Linked DNA regions of Homo sapiens: regions 1, 3, 4 and 5 are each linked to region 2. Evidence: promoter capture Hi-C in human tissues and cell types (Jung and others, 2019). All regions are on one chromosome and are shown on one strand. Each heading gives the region's core, a stretch centred on a gene start or on the middle of the fragment in contact. The rest is flanking DNA. Distances are from core to core; before and after follow the strand shown. Region 1 overlaps LOC105369957 (a long non-coding RNA gene). Region 2 holds the start of ALDH1L2 (aldehyde dehydrogenase 1 family member L2). Region 3 has its middle 180 kb from the start of MIR3922. Region 4 has its middle 160 kb from the start of SLC41A2. Region 5 overlaps C12orf75 (chromosome 12 open reading frame 75).

The links. The method cuts DNA at HindIII sites, captures the fragments that hold promoters and counts their contacts. A contact is called where the count stands out against the background at its distance.
Region 1: a fragment that was not itself captured here is called in contact with the fragment with the promoter of ALDH1L2 in region 2 in 2 of the 25 tissues and cell types used here (adrenal gland and lymphoblastoid cells).
Region 3: a contact is called between a fragment that was not itself captured here and the fragment with the promoter of ALDH1L2 in region 2, in 5 of the 25 tissues and cell types used here (H1 embryonic stem cells, heart left ventricle, lymphoblastoid cells and 2 more).
Region 4: a contact is called between a fragment that was not itself captured here and the fragment with the promoter of ALDH1L2 in region 2, in 7 of the 25 tissues and cell types used here (adrenal gland, aorta, liver and 4 more).
Region 5: a fragment that was not itself captured here is called in contact with the fragment with the promoter of ALDH1L2 in region 2 in 1 of the 25 tissues and cell types used here (lymphoblastoid cells).

What each region holds. Positions count from the first base shown.
Region 1 is chr12:105,379,372-105,383,329 of GRCh38, reverse strand. The region is part of intron 1 of LOC105369957 (a long non-coding RNA gene); the gene reads right to left. Among named protein-coding and RNA genes, the nearest start is that of C12orf75, 51 kb to the right of the region's middle. The HindIII fragment of the contact is 7,784 bases long and covers 1-3,958 here.
Region 2 is chr12:105,082,289-105,086,472 of GRCh38, reverse strand. ALDH1L2 (aldehyde dehydrogenase 1 family member L2) reads left to right here and starts at 2,015. Exons shown (of 23, transcript NM_001034173.4): 1 at 2,015-2,084. The coding sequence starts at 2,037. RefSeq lists a silencer at 1,708-2,137 and enhancers at 2,638-2,877, 2,372-3,172. The HindIII fragment of the contact is 4,053 bases long and covers 1-3,844 here.
Region 3 is chr12:104,769,592-104,773,670 of GRCh38, reverse strand. No RefSeq gene overlaps it. Among named protein-coding and RNA genes, the nearest start is that of MIR3922, 180 kb to the right of the region's middle. The HindIII fragment of the contact is 6,951 bases long and covers 1-4,079 here.
Region 4 is chr12:104,796,153-104,800,049 of GRCh38, reverse strand. No RefSeq gene overlaps it. Among named protein-coding and RNA genes, the nearest start is that of SLC41A2, 160 kb to the left of the region's middle. The HindIII fragment of the contact is 7,020 bases long and covers 1-3,897 here.
Region 5 is chr12:105,351,324-105,355,600 of GRCh38, reverse strand. All of the region lies in intron 2 of C12orf75 (chromosome 12 open reading frame 75), which reads right to left. Among named protein-coding and RNA genes, the nearest start is that of C12orf75, 23 kb to the right of the region's middle. The HindIII fragment of the contact is 4,396 bases long and covers 1-3,783 here.

The DNA of each region.
Region 1 (3,958 bases), core at 1,185-3,684, 300 kb before region 2:
ATGAAAGGGCTTCCCCCAACAAGCCGGAGATAAATGGTGGTTGTTCACTCCCGCGAGCCTGACCCTGTGTTAGCGCTGGGGATCAGGAGGACAGGCATGAAGTTCACTGAACAGCGAGAGGCAAAGACCCACCACACCACTCCCCCACTCTCCACTCACCCTGATTCTGTGTTAAAAGGTGAATGAGATGGTCTGGGCCAAAGCGTGCAGGCTTGGTCTCCAGTGCTGGCAACAGACAGGGAAAGAAGTCAGTGGGCTCAGTGCACATGTGAAGCAAATGAATGAAACTGAATTTGGAAAACAGAGTGACAAGTGTTATCTTGGGGCGGATATGCCACGAAGTATAGGAGTGCAGGAGAGGGAGGGAGCGGTCCTGCCTAGAGATGACATCAGAAACCAGCTTTTACAAATGCAGAACAGCTGGCCGGTCAGATGGAAGGAAGTGGAAAATAGTCCAGAAGAAATACTCTGGACAATGGTTTCGGAACATGGAAGGTCCTCATGCCTTTGGAAAATAATAAGAAAAAGGATTGACTGTGGAATGAGTCAGAAAGAAGGAGAGATTAGCTCTCCCTGTTCACGCCACCCACCCTGCCCCCAAGTAAGAATACAGTCAAGACGGGCAGTAGAATAATCATTTTCTTTGGGGGAAGGGGGCTTATATACTTCTGATTACAAAAGCCTCATTTTAAACATTTTGGAAAAATACATAAGGAATTTGCATTTCATCACAAACAGAAAGCCAGTATTTCCTGTCTCTCTTATAGATATACTATATTTGTGTGTATATATGTACATGTGTATACAAATATACATATATGTACGTGTGTATATATACATATATGTACATGTGTGTATATATGTACATGTGTATACATATATATGTACATGTGTATATATATGTACATGTGTATACATATATATGTACACATGTATACATATATACACACATTCATATATATCTGGGATAATTCTATACAAAATTTAATATCTTTGTTTTGTGAAATAGACAATGCACATTTTCCCATTAAATTACGCATAAAAGTATAATTTTGATGACTCTACAATATTCCTTTGTATAGCTGATTCATAATTTTTAAGCAGCCCTTTATTGTTGGACACTATATGGTTTCCAACTCCCCTTTACTATAAGCAACTTTGATGAACATTCCTTTTGTAAGTCTCTACATCTCATTATACACACACACACACACACACACACACACACACACACTTTTTTTGAGACAGGGTCGCCCAGGCTGGAGTGCAGTGACGCGAGCATGGCTCACTGCAGCCTCGACCTCCCAGGCTCAAGCAATCCTCCCACCTTAGCCTCCTGAGTAGCTGGAACTACAGATAAGAGCCACCACACCAGGCTACTTTTTGTATTTTTTGTAGAGACCAGGTTTTCCCATGTTGCCCAGGCTGGTCTCAAATTCCTGAGCTCAAGTGATCTGCCCGCCTCGGCCTCTCAAAGTGCTGGGATTACATGAATGAGCCAACGCACCTGGCCTTAAATGTTCTTGATTCAAATTGCCAAACTGCTCTCTAGAAAGGTTTTAGTAATTGAAACTTCCAAGCAAAGATGAGAGTGACCATTTGGCCACATTCATGCCAAGGCTGCGAATTATCATATTTAGTATCTTGTCACTCAAAAAAATACTTATTAGGCATTTACTAGGTGGTAGGCTCTGGGCTGGGTGCTGAGATACAGCAATGAGCAAGTGAGATAAGGAATTCCTGCTTCCTGGAGTTTCCATTCTTGTGCAGGAGGCTGTCAGTAAACAAGGGAAATCAGTAAAGTATGCAGCATGTTCATTGTAAATGCTAATGAGAAAAATAAATCTAGCAATAACAACTGGAAGTGTTGGGTGAAAGGGGCGTGAATTTTAGATGGGGTGGGCAGAGAAGGGCTTACTGGGGAGATATGAGTAAAGTGCTAAATAGGGAGATGGCGTGCAAATATCTGGAGGACAAGATTGCAGACATGAGGGATCGGCAAGTGAGAAGGTGTGAGATGAGAGCCTGGTTGGCAAGTTCGAGGTAAAGCAAAATCAGTGTGGCCGAAGAAAGGCAGAGAGGAGAAGAGTAATGTGTGTAAGTGATGTCAGAGGAGTAACCGAAATCAGAAGGGGAGGAGGAGATAGATGTGTTATGGAGGACCGTGTGGAATTCAACTTTCCCTGGAAGAGAAGGGGAGCACTGGAGGGTTTGACTTGGAATTTAACAAGATCCCTCTCGCTGCTGTGTTCAGAACAGGCTGAGGTGGGCTAAGGAACGAAGGAGGCTAGTGCCGTAATCTAGGATGGAGATGATGGTGGCAATGGAATAGACGTGATGGGGATGGTGAGAAGAGATTGAAATCTAGAGACGTGAAGGTGGCACGTGCACCTACAGGATTTGCTGATTCGGGGATGGGGGAGAGCTAAGAAAGAGTCAGGGTGAGTCCCAGCTTTTTGACCTGAGCAGCTTGGAGAATGAAGTTGCCATTTACTAAGTTGGAGAAGTTGGCAAAGGAACAAAACAGAACAGGGGTAGAGGGTGGAGATCAAGACCTCAGATATGAGCTTATTAATATGAGATACGGTTTAAGACATCCTAGTAGAGACACCAAGTAGACAGTTGGATAGAGGACTGAAGCTTAGGGAGAGGTCAAGGCTGAGGGCACACAGGAATTAACAGCACATAGAATGGACAGAAAAGAGGATCTGTCCAAAGATGAAGGCTGTGGGCACGCCTGTGTTCAGAGGTTTGGATGCCAGAAGGAATCAGCAAAGGATACTGAGGACGAGCAGACAGAGAGGCAAGAAAACAATCAAGAGAATGCGGTGACCCAGAAGCCAAGTGGAGAAGTCTCAGGGAGGCTGGAGGGATCAGGATTAAGATGAAGACTAAGAATTGACCATTAGATTAGCAATAAGGAGGCCACTGGTGCCCATGAGAACCAGTCTTAGTGGAATGAGAGGAGCAAAGACCTGACTGGAGTAGGTTCAAGAGAGAAAGTGGAGACAGTGATTATAGACTAATCTTATTAGGAGCTCTGATGGCAAAGGAAGGAGAGAAAGGGGCATTTGATCGAGAGACGGTTCTTTTTTTAGGACGGGAGAAATAAAATAATGTTTGTATGATGATGGAAATAATCCTGTAGGCGGGAAGAACTGGTTGGAGAATTGTTGGGGCAAAGTGCTTGGTTGGGTGCAAGAGGATGGGATGCAATGCGGGAAAGGGGGAGCAATGGTACCCATCGTGGGGGAAGCTCGATTGTTTCTTTTTTTTTTTTTTTTTTTTTTTTTTTTTTTTTTTGAGACGGAGTCTCGCTGTCGCCCAGGCTGGAGTGCAGTGGCGCAATCTCGGCTCACTGCAGGCTCCGCCCCCTGGGGTTCACGCCATTCTCCTGCCTCAGCCTCCGGAGTAGCTGGGACTACAGGGGCCCGCCACCTCGCCCGGCTAATTTTTTGTATTTTTAGTAGAGACAGGGTTTCACCGTGTTAGCCAGGATGGTCTCGATCTCCTGACCTCGTGATCCGCCCGCCTCGGCCTCCCAAAGTGCTGGGATTACAGGCGTGAGCCACCGCGCCCGGCCGATTGTTTCTACATTGTTTCTACATTGTTAGTGAGATAGGAAGCAAGGGTGACAGCTGAGAGTGAGGATGAGAGGATGTGTTGGAGGTTTGAGGAAAAGCTAGAAGATAGGAAATAGTCATCTAAGGAAAGAAAGAATGAATGGGCTCAGGAAATAGAGGGTGGTGCCCCGGCAGCATTATGGACCCACTGGAAGTCCCTGTCTGTGTGGTTGTCTATGCAGCCATATCACCAGGGCACATGCATGCAGTGACATGGCTTCAACCAGGGTTGTAGTCAGGCAAGTGATTACAAAAGAGAGGGAGGCAAAGGAGGGATGACACTGAGCGACCTTGGTGTTTAAGCTGAGGAAGGAGGGACAGGAAAGGCTAGCAGT
Region 2 (4,184 bases), core at 766-3,265:
GGAAGTTTAAAAAAGCAAGAAGTCACAAAATGCAGTCAGGAAAGTGGGTTGAATTGGCAAGATGTAGGGCTCAAAGCAAAACCTTGGATGTTTGTTGCAATTCTCCAAGTTTTTTTTTTTTTGAAACAGAGTCTCCCTCTGTCGCCCAGGCTGGAGTGCAGGGGCGCGATCTCGGCTCACTGAAAGCTCTGCCTCCTGGGTTGACGCCATTCTCCTGCCTCAGCCTCCCAAGTAGCTGGGACTACAGGCGCCCGCCACACGCCCGGCTAATTTTTTGTATTTTTAGTAGAGACAGGGTTTCACCGTGTTAGCTAGGATGGTCTCGATCTCCTGACCTCGTGATCCGCCCACCTCGGCCTCCCAAAGTGCTGGGATTACAGGCGTGAGCCACCGCGCCCAACCGCAATTCTCCAAGTTTTAATGATGGTTCTTTTTTGTCTCCTTACTCTCTTAAACACATTCATCCGTTTCAACAAGTTTTTTTTTAACAAGTTATTTTTTATTTTATTATTATTTTTTTAAAGCTCTGGTTAGTGCTAGATACTGTAAATCCTGATTAATCAGACATGGACTTAGCTTGCAAGGAGCTTCCAACAGAGACGTTAATAGGTATACAAATACCAGTAGCAGATTGAGACAGCCATAACAGATGCATAGACAAAGATTATTTCCTGTTAAGAGGAGTGAACAATTATTTATGGGGAATAAGGAGACTAAGAGAGAAAAGAATCAGAAAAAAGCGCCTCCAGGAGGCAGCATGTAAGCGGTACCTTTCAGAAAAGAAACGGTCGTGCCAAGATAATTACAAGTGACAGATGACAAGCTTTTCTGGGAAACATTGTCCAAGAAGGAATAGGCAAGAACTGCAGTCAAGCAGAATTACATATGCAAAAGAGCAGTGAGAAATAAGAGAAAATGGCAAATTGCAGACGGCCCTGAATGCTGGGCTAAGAAGTCTGGCTTGAGATAAACGTCCAGCTAAAGCAGGTCTGAGCGTTTTTTCCAGAGAGGTGAGGGAGAAGGGCACGTATCTATTAGGTTGATGCAAAAGTAATTGCGGGTTTGCCATTATTTTCAGTGGCAAAAACCACAATTACTTTTGCACCAATTTATTTATTTATTTTTAAGACAGAGTCTCGCTCTGTTGTCCAGGCTGAAGTGCAGTGGCATGATCTCAGCTCCACTGCAACCTCCGCCTCCCCGGCTCAAGTGATCCTCGTGCTTCAGCCTCCCGAGTAGCTGGGACTGCAGGCATGCGACATCACGCCCGGCTAATTATTTTATTATTTTATTATTTTTTATTTTTAGTAGAGACGGGGTTTCACCATGGTGGCCAGGCTGGTCTCGAACTCCTGAGCTCAGGCCATCTTCCCTCCTCGGCCTCCCAAAGTGCTGGGATTACAGGCGGGAGCCACCGCGCCCGGCCTACCGTCCTACGAGGTAGGCATCAGGATCCCTCCACAGCGAAGGCGCCCCCACTACCTATCTGTCTACAGGCGTGCCTTTTACGGGCTGTGCTATGGACAGCACTTGGGATGTCAGATTGACCACTAATAAGGTAGATCCGTATACACTGCTGCGGGGCTGAGTAACTGGTAGAGGGTCCCACAGTTAGAAAGCACCTGGACCTTGGCTGGAATTGGCGGAAAGTCCAGGCAGCGGAGAGGCGCGGTCCCTGGGACTGGGTGCGCTCTTGGCACCAGGGTCAGGGCCCACAGGCTCCAGGAAGCCCACGCGCTCCGCCGGGTCGCACCAGGTTGGCTGTCCGAACGCAGCCAGCTGGCGGGGCGGGGCCTTCCAGCTGGGGGCGGGGTCTTGACAGCTAGGGGGCGGGGCCTTGCAGCTGGTAGGGTGGGGCGGGCCGCGGGCTGTGGGCTTTGGGAGGGGTGCGGACTAGCAGAGGCCGAGAGCGGCGAGCCGCGAGCCAGGCAGTCCGGGGCATCCAGACTGCAGGCCGCGCCCAGGCCGCGCCCAGGCTGCGCCGCCCGCCTGCCTCCCGCGCTGCCGCGTCGCCAGTGCTAGCGCTCCTCTCCAGCATGCTGCGGCGGGGCAGCCAGGCGCTCCGGCGCTTCTCCACTGGCCGGGTGAGTCCGGCCCGGGCGAGCGTCCCGGCTGTCACCCTGTCCTGGTTTCCAGACTCCGGGGCGGGAGGGCCGGGGCGGTGGGGCTGGGGATGAGCAGCGATGCTTAGACTTTGCTAAACACCAAGACAGCGTTTAAAACAAACAAACAAACAAACAAAAACAGAGAGACCTCAGAGGAGGGCTTGGGGAGGGTCCCGGATGGGAACTGGCACGCAGGCCATTGTCTTCTGCCGGGAGGGGGCTGAGGATGCAGTTTTTGGACGTGTCAAGTCTGGCTGGGATGGCAAGGTGGGAACAGTCACTTGGTAAGGAGGACAGAGTCTGCTTCCTTTCCTTTTTCACTTCAATCATGAGATCCCTGGTCAAGAGCTGGAGCCATATGGAACCGAGACTGTCTCCTGGAGGAGGGGAGTATCAAGTCAATAGGGTCCTCGTTGGCGGCCTGGGAGGTGTAAGCGCTCGAGACTGGCACGCAGGGCCGGTTCAGATAATGGCACTCAAAGCTGATGGCTGCAAGCTCAGTATTCCTGAGCTGAGCTGCAGATGGCAAAATTTCTAGAATTGCCAGGCGCTGCAGAGGCAGCCACGCTGGAACACTATTCTACTGTAGCACAAGAACCGAGCTCTGGCCCAGCCCCGCGCCTTGGAATTGCATCAGCTCCTCCAGAAATGGAACCGAGAGAGGACACGTTGCACTGCGGTGCTGCCTTCAGCACCCAGGGGGCCTCGGGACTGTTTAGGGAAGAGAGAGAGAGAAAAAAAAAAAATAAAAACTGTCTTATGTATCGTATCTTTTATAGGAAGTACATAAAAGAATTTGCTTATCGATTCTTTTTCTCGGCCATGCCAAAGCCATATGTACATATGTATATATTCAGATGTAAAAAACTTGGAGGCAGAGAGAAGTCTTGAGTAGCACCAAAAACTGGCCCAAACTTGCATCAAAGGAAAAGCTTTCTGTATCCCAGACAACCCCAAATAATAAGAATTCGTTTTACTCTTTGCAACCAGTTCTAGTTACTTTGAGGTATAGTCACCTTTTATAAAACGAGGGGTGGGGGTGGGGAAGACCTGCTCTGCTAGGACTTTGGCCTGCTCTCCTGGACCCCTCATTAGCTTCCCCCACCACGTGGCACATGGGATCCCAGATGGATAGCACAGAAAGCAACGGGCTGTGCCCAATGCCTGAGCCTGTTTTGTTGGCCTCCTCTGTCAACACCTTTCACTGACTTGTCTTTTTTGGTGACCAGAAGGAAGTCTTGCAGAATGAAAAGATTTTGATAGTGCGGTTTGCATAAGATTTCAGTAATAAAAGGTAAACATCTCAGGTGGCAAATGGCATAAACAAAACTATGGATGTGGGGAAGAACTGGCGTGATCAGGGTCTAACTGTACGCAGGGGTGCATATGGAAAAGCAGTGATACTCATGGCTGGGAAGAAGACAGTTTCCTCAGTGGTCGAAAGGAAGCTACTGAGTGGTGAATGAAAAATGTGGGATGTTTTATCCTGTAGAAAATGTTCTGGACTGTGTTTTATAAGAATTATTCAAAATCAAACAGATACATGGCTGGTGGAAATATAAAATGGTACAGCCACTTTGGAAAACTGTTTGGCAGTTTTATATGTAGTTAAACATAAACCTATCATATGACCCCGGAATCACACTCCTAGGTATTTACTCAAAAGAAATGAAACCTTATTTGCCCGCATAGAAACCTGTTTATTGATGTTTCTAGAGGTTTTATTCATAATTGCCAAAAACTGGAAATAAATTGTCCTCAGCTGGTGACAGGATAAACAAGCTGTGGTATATCCATCCATACAATGGAATTCTACTCAGTTGGGGGAAAAAGGAATGAACTACTGATGCATACAACATGGATGGAACTCAAATATGTATGCTAAGTGTAAGAATCAGACTCATAATGCTACATATTTTATGATTTCATTTATCTGACATTTTGGAAGAGTAAAACTATAGGGACAGAAAAAAGATCAGTGATGTCTGGAGCTGGAGATAGGAGGAAGGATTGATTATAAATAGGCATAAAGGAATTTGGGCGGTAATGGAACTGTTCTACATCTTGATTATGGTAGTG
Region 3 (4,079 bases), core at 617-3,116, 310 kb after region 2:
GTAAAACCCAGCCTGAAAAATGTAAAATTAAATATCCACCATCAAATTAAAAGTTGCTAGACATACAAAAAGGCAAGAAAATTGGAACAGTAATCAGGAGAAAAATTAGTCAATATAAGCAGACCTAAAAATGATAGTGATGATGGATTAGCAGATAATGACTTTAAAAGATTACACACACACACACACACACACACACTTCCACATTCTCAAGGATATAAAGGACATGTGATCATTATAAGGAAAGAAATGTAACACTTTTAAAGATCCAAATGGAACTTATAGAAATAAAAAATACAACATCTGAAATGAAAATTTCCCTGGGATGGCATTAACCGCAGGATTAAGAATCAGTAAACTTGAAGAAAGAGCAATTAGAAAATATTCAAAATGAAGCACACCAAGAAAACAAAAACTTTAAAAAATGAACAAAGCATTCATGATCAATGGAGCAACATCAAGTGGTCTAACATATAAGTAGAGTCCTAGAAAGAGTGTAGGGGCAGGAAAGAATATTTAGAGAAGTAATGGCCAAGTAATGGCCACACATTTTCAAATTTGATCAAGAATTTTTAGTTAAACAAAAGATGAGATAATTTGCTGCCAGCAGACCTATAATACAAGGAATAAGGAAATTTTTCAGGTTGAAAGAAAATGAGACCAGATGTGTGGAGTTATGCAAAAGAGCAAGGGCCAGAAATGATAAATGTGAAGGTAGATATTAAATTGTCTTTCTCACTTTTTGCATATTTAAAGGATAATTGACAGATAAAGCAAAAATGATAACATTTTATAGTTTGTAACACGTAGAACAAAATATATGACAACAAGGGCAAAAAGAAGGGGAATGGAAGTAATCTGTTGTGGGGTTCTCGTGTTAAATGTGTATATAGCATAAATTTTTAAAGATAGACTGTAATAAGTTTAAATACACATATTATAAATCCAAAGGCAACCACTAAACACAAACCAACAAAGAAATAGCTAATTAGCCAAAAGTAAATGGAAAACTAGAATAATAAAAATACCCAATATAAGCAAAGTAAAGGAAAAAAAGGGAAAAAGGAAGAAAGATAAGAAATAGAAAACAACAAGATAGTAGGTTTAAACCTAACTATATCAATAATTACATTAAATGTAAATAGTCTAAATATTCCAACTAAAAGGAAGAGGTTCTCATATTAGATTTTTTTTTTAAAAAATATCTGGCCAAGTGTGGTGGCTCATGCCTGTAATCTGAGCACTTTGGGAGGCCAAGGTGGGAGGATTGCTTGGAGCCAGGAGTTCAAGACCAGCCTGGATGACATTGCAAGATCCCGCCTCTACAAAAAGTAAAAAATTACTTGGGAAAAGGGTGTGCACCTGTAGTCTGGCTACTTGGGAGGCTGAGGCAGGATGATCTCTTGAGCCCAGGAGTTAGAGGCTGCAGTTAGCTATGATCACACCATGCATTCCAGCCTGGGAGACAGAGTGAGACCCTGTCTCTAAAAATTTTTTTAATTAAATTTAATTTGATTTTAAAAGACCCAAATATAGGTTGTTAACAAAGAAAGCTACTTTAAACATAAATACACAGATAGGTTAAAAGTAAAAGAGAGAAAATGGTATATAATGCAAACACTGAAAAAAGAAAGCTGGCTTAGTATAGTAGTATCAAAGTGGACTTCAGAACAAGGAATACAGCTGGGGAAAAAGAGGGACATTTCATAATAATAAAGGAGTTAATTCATCAAGAAAACATAACTTTAAATGTGTATGCAACTAATTTTTAAAGTTTTAAAATTAAGCAAAAATTGAGAAGAGAAATAGATTAATCCACAATTATAATAGGACATTTTAATACTCCCCTTTTCCAATAATTGATAAATAAATGTTCAGAAAATGAATAAGATATGGAAGACTTGAAGAACATTATCCACCAGCTTGATCCAGTTGACAGTTATAAAACCTTCCATCCAACAATAGCGGAATAAACATAGTTTTAAAGTCCACAGGGAACATATACCAAGATAGATCCTATTCTGGGCCTTAAAACAAGTCTCTATGAAGTTAAAAGGACAAAAATCATACAAAATATGTTATCTGACGACAATGGAATTTAAGTAGAAATAAAATGAAGATATCAAAAAAATTCCCAGCACACTTAATAATCTATGAATTAAATAAATAACTATAAAGAAAACTAGAAAATACTTTAAACTGAATAAAAATGGAAACACAATTTGCCAAAATTTATGGGATGCAGCTAAAGTAGTACTTAGAAGGACAATTTTAGCCTTAAGTGCTTATATTAGTAAAGAAGAAAGGACTCAAATTAATAATCTAAAGTTCTGGCATAAACTAGAAAAAGAAGAACAAATTATTCACAAGGCAAACAGAAGGAAGTAAATAATAAAAATGGGAGCACAAATCAATGAAACCAAAAACAAACAAAAAAAGGCAGAGAAAATCAACAAAACCAAAAGATTGTTCTTAGAAAGAATCAATAAAACTGATAAATTTCCAGCCAGACAATGGAAAAAAGAGAGAAGACATCAACTACCAATATCGGGAATGAAAAACAGAATATAATTACTTATCCAACAGGCATTAAATGTTAATAAGAGAAACTTATAAACAACATTATGCCAATAAATTCAGCAACTTAGATGAAACAGATATATTCCTTCAAATGTATTTTTACCAAAGCTCATTCAAGAAAAATTAGATTACTTAAGTAGCTTACTTAAAATTAATAATTTTATTTATCTATTAAATATTTATCTATTAAATAAAAATAATTTTTAATTAAAAACCTTCCCACAGTGAAAATTCCAGGAGCAGATAGCTTTGCAAGTGAGTTCTACCAGATATTTGAGGAAAAAAACGATACAATTTCTACACAAATTCCTCCAGAAAATAGAAGAGGAAGGAATATTTCCCAAGTTGTATTATGAGGCCGGCATTACCCTCCCATCAAAACCAGACAAAAGCATCACAAGAAAAATATAGGGTGATATTTTCTAGGAACATAGGCGAAAAAATTTAAATAAAATATTAGCAAATTGACCACTTTAATCTGATAAAGGGCATCCACAAAAAACCTACAGCTAGAATCATACTTCATAGTAAAAAACTGAAGCTTTCCTCTTAACCACTTTTATTAAACCTGGTATTGGAAGTCATAGCCAGTGCAATAAAGAAAAACATAAAAGCATACTTGGGGAATTATAATACCTGACTTCAAGGCCTCCTATAAAGCTATAATAATTAAGGCAGTGTGATATTGGCATAGGAACAGGCATATAGATCGACAGAACAGCAGAGAGAGTCCAGAAAGCAGCTCGCATATATGTGATCACTTGATTTTTGACAAAGGCACCAATGTAAAAATAGTACAGCTCTTTCAACAAATGGTAATGGAACAACTGGATATTTATAAGGTCTGAACTATGACCCTTACTTCATATATACAGTACTAACTAAATGGTCATAAACGTAAATGTAAAAGCAAAAATTATGACACTTCTAAAAGAAAACATTGGATAAAATCCTGGAGACTTTAGGTTGGGTAAAGATTTCTTACACAGGACACAAAAAACCCAGCTGTAAAATAAAAATTGATAAATTGGACTTCATCAAAATTTAAAATGTTTGCTCTTTGAAAGACATTAAGAAAATGAAAAGGGCAAACCACAGACTGAGAGAAAATATTTGTAAAACATATTTCTGATAAAGGATTTATGATTTGAATAAACATTTCTCCAAAGAATATATAGGAATGTGTATATAGAATAATCTAAAGTGATACATACATATAAATATGTAATTCATGTATAAACGATGGAAAGAATCAGAAATGGATCACAAAAATGATTTTGAGTTCAATATTCAGTGGAATATATTTAAATAAAGGGTCTTTTTTACATACAAATATTTTAAGGAAAGCTTAAATTCATTTAAATGAATAATGAATAATCCTTGATTTTGGTGCCAAGATACCAAATTTCCAACATTCACCTCATGGCAACACCCCAAGATGTAAGCTCAAAAGGGAAGACTATAGACGTGGGTATATCACATGAATATAATTTTAGAGT
Region 4 (3,897 bases), core at 968-3,467, 290 kb after region 2:
TTTGGTGAACTCTTTGTGTGGCTCATACATCAGGCACAAGACTTGTTCCTTAAAATTTATCATTTCAGCTTATAGAGATTTAGGAACAGAGCAGTTCCTGTTTTTAGTAATTCCATGGAAGAAAGTTGGATTAAAGGAATATAAAAGAATTCAGGATCTAGTCTACTCTATAGGTAAATAAGAACCTGAAAACAATGCACAGAGCTATAATCTAATAGCAGATGTATTATAGCTTTTTCTTTATAAATATAACTATTTCTGCCTATGTTGATCACACAGGAATCTCAGATTTAAAAACCTCTTGAGGCTAGGAAACCAAACTAAGGAAGACTTTAGATGTTACCTACAGTCCTAAGGCTCCTGAGCCTGCCAGGAAGTGAGTTTTTATTCACCGTAAGGCTGAGAACCCTTGAAGTCAGGTATTCTATGCATATTCTCCAATCTATTTCACTCAAAGCCTTGGTAATATAACCAGTATTTTCATTGTATCCAGTTATAGAAAGCAGATTTTTACTGAATTTATGCAAATAACCATGAATAGTTCCCACATTTTGGAGGCATCAAGTAGGTAGAAAAGCAATTGCTTCCATCTTTGTTCACACGAGTACACTTTACCAAATTTCTGTAAACTATGGATAACTAAGAAAAAAAAAGTTCCTTCAATCTGGAAAATAAAACATTTAAGAACCAATAATGTTTCAAATAAACATAAAAACATCTTCATCAGTTACTTAATCTCATGTAATTAATTTTTGTTTTGCTTGATCTTATCTGTTTTATGAACCCATCAGTTTCTTCATTAAATTTTTGAAAATTTTTTATGTAGTCCATTGATCTTACAGTTATTAGAAACCTGTATTTAAGAGTAGTTGTTAGAGTATTTTTCATGAAACTAATTGCAAATGCTTTTGGAGAAAAATCAAAACAATAATTGTGAATGACAGAGACTTAAAATAGCCATGGTTAAGAATCTGACTTTGATTCATTACAATCAGCAATTGACAAGGAAATTTGGTTATTTTATGGCATACAATATAATAACCAGAATTATGGCCAATAAGATATTAGATTTCTAAGAGTTTTGTACAGTTGGGGACATTCATATCAATAACATACCCATAAATGTAACTGAAAGAAAACCTAGCATCACTTATCATTTGACAATACTTCCCGTACAAACAAGCCTAGTCACTTAATATCTCTACAAGATGAAAGATACATCCTTTGAGGCTCTCCAGTGGCCCACATGGAAAATCCTGAAGTTAATTCTAGGTCAAAAAGATTTAATTTAGAATGTTGATCCTGGAGAAGCCTGCCAAAGATGCCAAAAAGTTCAAAATACTTGATCAAAACAGGATCGCAGGTCACTGTGAAATAATAGCCATTCATTTAACCAGAGTGATAATCCAAAGACTTCAAAAGCAATAAAGTTTCATAAATGTAAAAAAAAAAAGCAACTTTTTCAAAGCTCAATTTTTCTACATAATAATAAAAATAAAGATAACAACAGGAAATTATCTTGGTAAATATAAAATATTTGCTTTTTAGGCCAGTTACCAAAAATAAAAACCTCCTCCAGTGTAACTGCTTCTCCTTATGGGAAGCCTATTTAGATAATCTGGAAGTCAAACCTCATGAAAGGGTACTTGAACTTAATCAGACACAGGAAGAGTGTGCCCAAGGTTATGAATGTATACCATATTATAGAGAAATATAAACAAGAAAACTAGTACCTTGAGCAGGGGAATATATGTCTCTTACTAACATCATCAGAAGTTTCCTGGTTACATGGAACAATTCAGACACATTAAGAAAAGCCAACAGAATTAAGTTATACTAGAAGAAAACACTGATTTTCCAGGCCTTCAGGATAAGCATTTTACTGTCAGGTTATAACGACAGAGTTGGAGCTGGAGAAAAAAGTTAAGGAATGACAAAAAAGTTGAAGGAGAGAGAGATCATCTCAGTCCTTCTCAAGTAGAGAAAGAAGAACAGGAGGCAAGATGTTATGACCTGCAAATCACATGTCGCAAGATAGAGCCAAAGTCGAACTTCTGAGAAATAGATCTGAGAAGCTTCAACAGGAAAACTCTACCTTGTTAAATGAAATTACCAACCTGAATGAAGACAGCATTTTCAGCCTGAAACTAGGGACATTAAATGAATGTCAGGAAGAAATGTGGCAGAAATAGAAACTGTACAGTTTAGAAAATGCCTGCTAAAGAAACAGATTTTAGAATTAAAAATAAAAATGTCTTGTAATTTTTGCTAAGAGCAGATCAAAAATTTGAGAAAACCTGGCTATTCTAGCATAGGGGACCAAAAATTTAATTTTGTATTAGTGTATTTTTAATATCAAAGTTCAATCTTTAGAAAAACTTACAAATAATTCCCTTCTAATTGTAACCAACATGATCACACAAAAATTGCTTTTATAAATTCATTCTTCACAAACCTTATCATGATTTACTCAGACACTCGATATGCTTAGCTTTTTTGCTTTGTCCTCTACTTCGTCTTTCTTAAATAACCAGTCATTTGATGTTAGGACAAAAATATGCCACTCAAGATTCTTTCTTATACAAAATTATTCTCTTCCTCTTAAACTTCCTTACCAAAAACATATCTTCACTGTCAAAGTCACCAATAGCCTCCACATTGCCAAATCCAATGATCAATTTCTAATAAGAATTCTTACCTTATTTAATCTCTAAAGTCATTTAACAGAATCTCCTTCCATCTTGAAATATTTTCTTTACTTTGCTTCCAAAAGTCTGCCCTTCGCTTTCTTTCCTTACCCTACTAAAAGCCCCTTCTCAGTTTGTTTTGCTGGTCGCTTCTCTTGTTCTCAATCTCTAAATGTTGGAATGCTCTAGGGCTCAGTTTTATCATCTCTTCTCTATCTACTTTCTTTCCCGATGTGATCTTACCCATCTTATTGTTATAAATATCATCTGTACTGATTATTCCAAAACTGTCTAGTCCCAACCTCTCAACTGAGTTTTAAATCTGTATTTCCAAATACCTGCCAGACAACTCTACTTGAATGACGACTAGGTATCTCAAGCATTTGAACACTCTCATCCACCTTGACCTAATTGACATCTGTAGAACACTTTATCCAACAAATGCAGAATACATATTGAAGGTTAATCTCCTTGGCAAACAAAGAACTTTTATAAATCAAGGGAAAAAATACCAGCAACCCAATAGTAAAATAACCAGAGGAGAGATGGTTCACAGAAAAAAAAATTTAATACCACTCAAAAAAATGCTAATTAAAATCACACTGAGATACTACTTACCTATCAGATTGGCAAAAATTCAAAACTGGATAAAACATTCTCTTGGCAAGGCTGTAGGGAGACAAAATTGCTGGTGGTAGAGCAGAATAAAAGCTCTATAGTGGGGAATCTAGCCATATATAACAAAATTACAAATGCACTTGTCATCCTATCTTGTAATTTCACCATTACTAGGCAAGTAAAGGCTGGGCCCTTTGCTGCATGATTTATAGCAAAGTTTGGCAAATTTCAGCCAGTGGGCCAAATCCAGTTTGCTGCCTGGATAAATAAAGCTTATTAGAATTCAGCCATGTCCATTCATTTCCATATGGCCTATGGCTGCTCTCCCTCTATACAGTAGAATTGAGTAGCCTTAAAAAAGACCATAGAGCCTGAAAGCCTAAAATCTTTACTATCTGGCCCTGCACATACACATACACACACATACACACACACACACACACACACACACACACACACACACACACACACACACACACGTTCACCTACCCCTTCTTTAGAGTGAATTCCTAATTTCTAAATCTTCTTTCTAAGTCTCCCCACTGATAGCGAGACTAGCTGGAGTCAGCAGTGCCATCTGGGCAGGGTGCCC
Region 5 (4,277 bases), core at 336-2,835, 270 kb before region 2:
CACTCAGAACCTCTCCTCTCTGGAGTCTAAACCCTGCCATAACTGTCCCCAGAGCACCAAAGATTTTGACCCTGACCCAAAGTTTTTCTTTCTAAGCACCATTATCTTGGTCAATTTAAAACTCCATGAAAATGGCCACGTGCAGTGGCACACACCTGTAATCCTAGCACTTTGGGAGGCCAAGGCGGGCGGATCACAAGGTCAGGAGTTCGAGACCAGCCTGGCCAATATGGCAAAATCCCAACTCTACTAAAAACACAAAAATCAGCTGGGCGTGGTGACATGCGCTTGTAATCCCAGCTACTTGGGAGGCTGAGGCAGGAGAATCACTTGAACCCAGGAGGCAGAGGTTGCAGTGAGCTGAGATAGTGCCACTGCACTCCAGCCTGGGCAAGAGAGCAAAACTCTGAAAAAAAAAAAGAAAAAGAAAAAGAAAAAGAAATTCGTGAAAACCACCCATCCAACCTCTCACCTCATATTTTGCTGACTTCCTCTATCCCAACAACTTCTGTGCTGCTCCGCTAACATACTCCGATGGCTGCTCCATGGAGTATAGTTCCTGGAACTATTTTACCACATTTTAGAGTAGAAAATCCCACTCCCTAGGGAGGAAAAAAAAATCCTCCTTTCGATAGTCCCATCATTCCCAAGAAGGCTGCTTTCTTATTGCAACATCAGCTCCAGTTCATCCATCCCTCCCCGTCCTCCCTATCCATCAGCCCCTCGTGTTTCCCTTCCCTCTCTCCCTAGCACATGTCTTGCAGTCAAGTATTTCTGCAGCACTTGCTGGTCACCACCTATTCCTCTCCATCCCTGGATGAATCCGTCCATCTGCTCTCTCTCTTCCTGCTCCTATTTCACAGGGTCCGACCTAAGGAAAATCTCATCATGGCTACCAATGGGAATATATGATTTCTAACCACAGCAAGGCCCTCAATATGCTGGGTCTTCTGCCATCAAGTATTCATGTCAGAGGCCCTGCCAAATTTTTTCAACAACATTTTAAACTAACTAATAATTCTAGCTGTCATTCACCGGGGGCAACAAGCATAATGCCAAGTATTTTCCTAGGATATTAAATATACTGTATTTGTAATCTGTCCCTCCAGCAGCTACTTCAGCTCTCTGTGCTCCCCACCTCCTCACTTGTAAAATGAAACATCATTATTCTGTCCATCAGATTATCATGGGTATGGAAGGAGATAACGTACAGAAAATGCTGGAAATCAGTGTATGGTGCACAGTCCTCAGTAAAGATTAGCTACTACTGTAAGAATGATGATGATGAAGATGATCACCCTGCACAGTTATTATATTATCCCAATTTCACAGATAATTATACTAAGGACACAATGTAACACAGCTAGCAAATGGTGAAGGGGATTTTAAACACAAGTCCCTCTGCTTCCAAAATGCAGGCTTTTTCAATGCTACTTCAACCCCATCCTCTTCACCCTCAGAAGACAGCGTTACCTTCTACTACATGGATGAGAAAAGAGCCCATCAGATACCCTAAGGTCTGTATCTATGAGGAGCAGAGAGGGCTCAGCTGACATGGGTGCATTAGACATGGTAAATTTATAAAGGATCCCAAGAAACTCAACATAAAAGATTTATCATTTCTTTTTTCCAAACACAAAAACAAAAACAAATTGCCAATGGGTTTTATGTCATTTCATTCCAAAATATTTTTCCCTGTATTTGCTACCTTCCATAATAATAAAATAGCTTTACCAAGGAAAGAATCTCAGTAAGATTCACTTTACATGTTTTAAGTGAAAGAAGTATTTGAATTACATTGTTTACATTGAGTAGCTATGGTTTTTTATTTTCAACAGCAAACATTATATTTGAGTCAACTTATTTAATACTGTTTCTTATTTGAAACGTAGTCATAATATTCTTATAAATATTGCTTAAGCTTTAAATCAAGACTTCTTTAAGAACACGAAAATTGATCTACAAAAAAAAATGCTTTCAATTAAATTCCAATTGTTTCGGTTTGCCCACTTACAATTTCTCCCCTTTTTTTTGGTAACGGCATCCCAATTTTTCCGTGGGGAATCACCCCTCTTCTGCTCTTTGGCCATATGGTAAGGTGGGGCTGATGATACTGATTGGCTCCAGTGGTGAGCACATGACTGCAGCCTGGCCAATGAGCACCCCACATTCTCCTGGCCCACTGACTGATTCCGAGATAGGAACATGACCCCAACGGGCCAAGAGAGCCCAGCCCTAGGACTTTTGATCAAACTACAAGGAAAAAGAAGCTGCTTTTTTCCACAGGAATTAGGAAGCTGATAAGATATAAACTGGTCCTGTTTGTCACCACTTGAGGAAAGCTGCCTAAGAATGAAGACGAAAGCAGAGAAGAGAATTTCTTCCTGTTGTTTGATCACCTGGATCCAGCTGTGACTACAGCCAAGTCCCTGGAGCTTTTCCACTCCACATGCCAATAAATTCCTTTGTGTTTGTTTGTTTAGGCCAGTTTAAACTGGGCTTCTGCCATTTCCTACCAAAAATATCCCAACGCAGCCTATTTGTGCCAAATAGCTGAGAATCTGCCACACTAAAATAAGAACATGGTTGATGTTGGCAGGTTTGTGAAAGCGGCCGAATGTCATTACCTTGAATTCACTGTTTTGTTTGTTTTGTTCAGTGTGTTACTGCACTGTGATTTAATTTCAAAGAGACAGAAAGAGAGGGAAAAATAGGCTTGTTTTCTGATACACATGTAGGCTTTTTCTTATGGTGATTAAGTTTCTAGACATTGTCAACCATGCTTTCAAGTGTTGAAGGTTAACCTAGCTAGGTTTTGAGTTCTCTAGCCTGTCATAGGATTTACATGCATCGTTATTCTCTCCACCACCAGAGAGAAACCCCCTCCCCAAACCACCATCAGCTTTTCTTACTCGCCTGGTTCCTGTCTTTTAGCCTACAGCAATATCCATGCCTCCTCCATGCCAAAAAATAATTTTTAAAAAAAGACAAAAGGAAAAACAAACTTCAATACACAAAATCAACCATACTCACAACTGGGCAGAAACAACCAAAAAACACTTGAAGAAAAGTGTAAAATGTTCATAATGATTGTCTCTGGTGGTAGAATAATAACTGAATTTTTCTCTTAAAAAATACTTTCCTGTACTTTCCAAATTTCCTTGGTATTCTTTTTCTAATACAGTATATTCTGAAAATTTGCCTCCTCTTAAAGCCACCAACATCCCTCCATTCCTTACCGCCAAACAGCATAAAAACCAAAGACCCACATCACTCTCTCCACTTCCTTGCACCTGGCTCACTTCCACTTTGACTTGGTTATCATTCACCCTGCTCAACTGAAACTACAGTCCCCAGGGTGACCAATGTGGCCATCATGACACACGCAATGACTTCTCTTCCTCCTTCAGCCCCCCATGACCTCTTTGGACTATCAGCCATCGCTTCCCTTGGCTCAAGTTTGACTGCAGCATTATCCTCAGAGTTTCCTTTCCTTTCCTTCCCCGTTCAGTCATTAAACAAATCTTATTAATTACATTTTCTAATGCATCTTGTTTGTATCACCTCTTCTCCTTTCCCTCTGCTATCTGACCCTCTTGTAGCCTCACTTCCATTATTCCTCTGTGCCTGCACCCTCCCTCATCCCATGTGTCACACTGCTTTGGGAGTTACTGCCCTAAAACTCAAACATAATCATTTAATTCCTCCACCTTAAAATCTCTATCAGCCCTTGAATGCATAAAAAAAAACAAGCACGATTATTGGCCTTGCACCCAAGGCCCTTCACAAGCCAGCCCTGCCCATCAACCTCATCTTTCACTTCTGCCCAGACTGTACCACAGGCACAGGCTCCAGGGGACACCACCTGGCTGGCTGGTCCCAGACCTACTGTCCTCTGGCACTCCCATGCCTTTTTTCATGCTTGTCCTCTGCCATGGGTTGCCATTTTTCTCCTTTTCTGCATGAACTCTTGTTCATCCTTCAATTCCAAGACCAGCATTAAATTCTGAACACTGGAATAATTAGCACTTACCACACTGTATTTTGGTCCCTAGTAGACAGTGAACTACTTCAGGACAGATACATCATTTTATTTATTATTATATACTGACTTCTCACCTATAGAAAACAGCAAATAAATAAGAAAAACGAGTAGTAAAAATTGCAGACCTTTCCTAGAGAATTGATTTTTTAAATATATAGTATTTCTGGCTTCCAAAAATAACAACCATTTTCCCACAAAGACTTTCCTGTGGTCTGCATAATATTGTGTTTGC